Regions from separate parts of the Homo sapiens genome. Here region 2 is linked to region 1. Evidence: promoter capture Hi-C in human tissues and cell types (Jung and others, 2019). All regions are on one chromosome and are shown on one strand. Each heading gives the region's core, a stretch centred on a gene start or on the middle of the fragment in contact. The rest is flanking DNA. Distances are from core to core; before and after follow the strand shown. Region 1 holds the start of SPRY1 (sprouty RTK signaling antagonist 1). Region 2 overlaps AFG2A (AAA ATPase AFG2A).

Region 1 (2,700 bases), core at 139-2,638:
CTATGAAAAAAATACAATGAAATCAATTTTATTCTTTTAAATAGCCTATTTTAATACAATTCATAATATTAAGAGTGAATATGTAGCTTTTTGGCTTGATTCTTATTCTATGCTATTTTCTAATGATGCTTTTTTATTGTTATTCATGTTCTTAACAATGCTCTGTGTTCTTCAGAGGCAATTCCAAACACAACTTTAATTTTTGAAAGTGCTCAGACATTTGAAAGTCCTGTGTGTGTGCGTGTGTGTTATGTATGTATATATTTATAGTTTCAACAGAACCACTTGCTATTGTAAATGAGACTAAAAATGTACTTTGAACTAAAAATTTCCATACTTATATGTTTATATGATTTAGATTCTAGAGTTTTGTTATTGTTTGCTTTGTTTTGCCAGACTTTAAGCTACTCCTGATATATAGTACCTGGAAAAATATTTCCTTTCCACTAAGTTTTTGGTCTTTAGGTGGCTTTTAAAAGTTTCTACGGAACCTTCAATTCCACAAAAAGTTATCCTCACTGCAGCATGAAAAGGCACAACTTTGATAATAAATGCCTAAAATCCCATAGTTTGTAAGAAAGTAGAAATCAAGTTTCCTACTTAAAGTGTTTTTTTTCCAGTCATATCAGCTATTACTAAGAATTATAAAACTTCTTGATAAATTTTTTCTATTCTAATTAATTGACTTTTAGCTAATTAAAAAATATACGGGTTTGTATTTTTTGCAAAATTATACAACTATATTACAAAATTGAAAGAATTTGGTTTTTTCTCCATGTGCTTGATTTTTGGGAAATCATATAACAAGCCAAGGTAAAGCAATTATTTAAAAAACCCACAGCAGAAAATTTCACCTTTATTACATATGCTTATATTACATTTGCAGTAAGGAGTGCCACCTTTTGAACTTTAGGTTTCACATATTCTGAACTTTGTTGTAAATAGGAACTGTAATGTTATATAATCATCTTTTTGTGTCAATATACGTTTTCCCTCTAGTTGGTCAGAAGTGATGGCTTGGCATACAACTTTTTTCATTTTCTTTTATTCTTCACAATTCTTTTCTAATTCAACTTAAGAGTAGAGTCCACCAATCCTTTTAATTGAGATCGACAACTGAAGATTGCTAACTAAATCCGAATGTATTCCTCTATGACAAACTGCATTTGCAGAATTTTTAGAGGCACTCCCGAAGTTTTAAGAGGATGTTTATTACACGAGTCTGTAGGGCAACATTTCCAAGTTGGTACACATAAACGAAAGAGGAAACGATAGTTAAGGAAATCCTGTTCCAGGTTTTCGGGCAGCCCGAGTGATTGACACATGATATCACCGGAGGCGTGTCCTGGAGTGGAGGTGGAGGTGGAGGCAAGGAGCTGAAATTCTGCGTAGCCGGAGTGAGACCGCTCTGCAAACCACTGCGTGCTTTGCAGAGTGATTATCAGCACAGTTCCCTGCCCTGGATAAGGAACAGCTACAGTCGCTGTTAAATGTGCCTGAAAAGCAATTTGCAATCTTTGCATTAGGTAAGTACCGTTTCCTTCCGTAGACATTTTAGGAAAGATAAGGTGAGAAATGTTGACTTTTGCAAGGAACTGAACATTTATTTATTTGAACTTGCTTTCCAGCTAAGGTTACTGGTTGCATTTCAAAACACCGGTAGCATTCCCACTGCTAAAACTAATGCTCTTAAAGTAAATGCTACCGCTAAAAGAAAAAGCAGGGTCCCTTTCACCTTTCCTTAACCGAACAGTAGACGTTTAAAGTCTGAAACGATCGAATTTGTGAAACACAGAGCCGTTAATGCCTTTATGCGAAGAGGGGCTAGCACTCGGTGTGTGGACCAAATGCGTGTTTGTTTAGGCATTGTTGGCGACCGAATCCCGAGTGAAGCATTGGTTTAAAACCTGAATTTCCCGTCTCTGTGTATTGATTCCTAACGCGCAGAGGCGTTGCTTGAACGTTGTTTGAACTCCTAGGCATTCCAGGGGGCAAAAGCACCTCGGCAAAAACGTGCAGGACTGCATGTTACTTTGGTTCGCGGCTGACACGCCGACTGTGCGCCGGCCTGTCAATCACCGGGAGCAGCAACAGGGAGCACATGGCAACGGGCTGCGGGCGAGCTGGCCAGCGGCCCGCCCGGGGTCCCAGCCCTTCGAAGAAAGGGACATTCACGAGCTTCTATCTCTAATTCTCTGTCGCAGGCATTTCGGCCGTGGAACCCCAGGCTCGGAGGACTGGGTGTGAGCGCTGCCCGGGAGAGGCTGACCTGCCGGGACCGGAGTGCCCGGGGACGCTGTGCCCCCACTTGCCCAACGTGCGGAATCGGCTAAGCGCGTCGGCCTGCGCGGGGCACAAGGGACGACGCCCGCCTTTCTCTCTCCGAGAAGGATCCCCAAACCTCACTCTCTTCACTCCTCCCCGCTAAAAAAAAAAAAAAAAAGAAAAGGGTAAAAAAATCCCCCTCCCCCTCCCGGCCGCGGCAGCCTCTGCCTGGCAGGCGCGTGCTCCGAGGTTTCGCCGGGGTACTGCGCGGCTCCGTGACCCACCCGCCGACGGCGGTTCGGGCCCCGACCCGGGCGCTGCGGAGTCTCGAACGCCCGTGACGTGGATTTTTCGCTCGTCAGGAAGCCGCCATCCCTTCCTTCGTTCCTTGCGAGGAGCGACTAGAACCCGAGTTCTCTGAGCACACCGTGCCGT
Region 2 (2,740 bases), core at 238-2,737, 150 kb before region 1:
TAAGGTATTTGCAGTTAAAATGATCACATTAGCCATGATGTAGATAAAGCAAGGAAAAAGAAGGAAAGAATAAGACTGCAGGCAGAAAAACAACTAGCACAGCAGTTATGATATTCTAGACAAATGATTGTGTTGGCTTGATATCACTGAGTAAACATTTATTGGGTGCCTTATATGTGCCATAGCTGAGCTTACAGTGTTGAATAAAATGAATATGATTCCTGCCATTACATACAGTCTACAATCTGTTGGGAAAGACAGACAGTAAACAAACACACAAATACACAATAAAGAAGAATGGGTAGAAGTGACAGGTTTAAGAGAGATTTAAGTAGTGTTAGCCAGGTCTATGCATTAGTTGGATTTAGAGGAAGAAATAGATACCTAGAATAAATCCAAGGTTTCTTTGAGATAATTCAGAGCCGTTACCAAAGATCCACCTTTCTCCCTGGTTTCTGGAACTATTCTCTCCATGAATCATGATTCATTGATATGTTTTTATTAAAGTATAAAGGCTCAGTGCTGCTTTCCTTTCCTAGAGGAAGGCACTCCCTATATACACATACACACCCTTGTTGATTATTTTAAATGAATGGGAGCCAATGGGACCTGATTTTTCAAGGTGTCTATTTTAATACTTTTGTCTGAACAAGTATTTCTATGTTAATGAAATTAGATTTGAGCATTTGATAGAACATGAAACTATAAGTGTTGAATTTCAGAATTTATAAAAAAGAAAAGGCAGCCTTATAATTGTGGTATAAGGTTTGATAGTTAAGACTCCTTCATGTGAAATACCAGATGTTTTGAGTCCTTGATATAAAGGTCAGAAGAAAAGAAGGATATTGGTTTCATAATAAACTAACATGTTTACAGTAATGACTATGCAGTGTAAGCTGTGGATATTTTGTTATATAAGAATGGCAGGGGGTCCTAGAACTGGGGGCTGGAAGGCCCATTTAAAAGGTCATCCAATACGATAATTTTTAGTCTGGAGCACACAAGCAGAGTTCAGGTGAACTCCCTGGAATTATTTGCAAAATTGGGAGTATTTTTTGTATGTATAGTTTGAGGGGAATTTCTGTCAAATGCACATAGGCACCTGTAATTAAAGAGCCGCCTTCATTTTCACACATGAGGAAACTGAGGCTGTTACAGATGTAGAGACTTGCCCAAGGTCTTGAATAACTTCTCAGAAAGGGAGTTTGTTCTATGATTTGTGTTTTTTAATAAAGTTTTAATGGACAGACCACGATATCCAACATGGCCTTGGAGCCATAGGGTTCAGAATATTAGAAAGCCTTGGCTTCTTTTTTCATTGAGTTGTCATATAGTGATTTTAATAATAATAGAACATGCTATTATTCAGAATACATTCTTCCACCCTAATATCCCAAAACAGTATTTTTAAAGAAATTCTAGGAAGGGTGTTTACTCATTCAGAGTTCTACAGGAAGGAAGGCTCTTTCCTACTATTTTTTAAGCATAACTTTCACTGACAAGACCAGGCCAGAAAAAGCCTAGCTGGCTGTTGGCCCAGACAATGTTATAATAATCATTGAAGTATACTCAACCTGCACTGCCTGAGGATAGCTACAGCTAAAAAAAATAAATAAATAAGCACACACAGATGTATGCTGAGTGTTCCAGTGACTTAGCTGACATGTATGCTGTATATCCTTTGCTGTGTTCTTTCAACTATTAGAAAGGAAATTTTAAAATAGCCTAGAATTTATTATTCCAATAGGGTGAAAAGGACAACTTCAACTTTAAAAAAATAACCAAGCTCTCCAAGGCTGTATCCCCAGCAAGTAAATCAATCTGGCATATAGTAGATGCTTAATAATTTTTTTGATGAGAGAATTGTTGAAGTTTGTTAGTTATATTTCAGAAAGAGAATTTTGTTTGTTCATCAATAATGAGTATCATGTAGTGTCAAAATAGTAAAATTAAAAAGGACTGCTTCAACATTTAGAAACCCCAGATTTCAGCGCAGTTTCTGTAAGTTATTGTACGACCTTGGGCCTCATTTTCTTTGTCTTAATAAGGATATAATAATATCTAATTCCCAAAATTTGGGGGAATATTAAATGAGCTACAGTATGTGAAAGATGCTTCATAGATCCTTAAGTGCTATATAAATATTAATGTTATTTGTCTTAGATAACATTTTCAATTTTTTAAATATGTATTTACTGAAATCATCTTTATTTCCTAAGTCCTGTATTTGTTTTAGGTAGAAAGAAGTGATTTCCATGATTGAAATGGAGTTTTGAATTCTTTGATAAAATACATTTTAAGGTGTACAGAATTGTCTGCAAAGAATTAAAACACTCATTTTTAAGCAAGGGAAATATATTTATTTTATGATTTTCCTAATTGAATTTTTGCCAGCTAATTTGTACGTAAGTTAAGGATTGATTGATATATATTTGATAGACAATCACCCTCTTCTAGGTATTATAACATATACAAAAAGTATACAACAGCATTTTCCAAAGTGGAAAAGAAATATTAGTTTTTGAGATGTTCCATGATTAGAGTTTGGGAATTTAAAATAGAATTTTTACATACTACCATAGGTTTCTCCTAGATATTTTTATTACCCATTAATATAATTTCCAAAAATTCCTTCATATAGAAACCTATACAAACCTTTTATTTTGTTTCTACACAGTGTTATCCAAATTTATTTAACAAGAAAACCCTTTTTTCCATTACATTTGTTAACATTCACTCG

Evidence for each region. The method cuts DNA at HindIII sites, captures the fragments that hold promoters and counts their contacts. A contact is called where the count stands out against the background at its distance.
Region 2: a fragment that was not itself captured here is called in contact with the fragment with the promoter of SPRY1 in region 1 in 1 of the 25 tissues and cell types used here (aorta).

Annotation. Positions count from the first base shown.
Region 1 is chr4:123,395,407-123,398,106 of GRCh38, forward strand. It overlaps SPRY1 (sprouty RTK signaling antagonist 1), which reads left to right and starts at 1,389. Exons shown (of 3, transcript NM_001258038.2): 1 at 1,389-1,526; 2 at 2,205-2,450. The HindIII fragment of the contact is 12,155 bases long and covers 1-2,700 here.
Region 2 is chr4:123,249,491-123,252,230 of GRCh38, forward strand. The region is part of intron 14 of AFG2A (AAA ATPase AFG2A); the gene reads left to right. Among named protein-coding and RNA genes, the nearest start is that of SPRY1, 150 kb to the right of the region's middle. The HindIII fragment of the contact is 5,744 bases long and covers 1-2,740 here.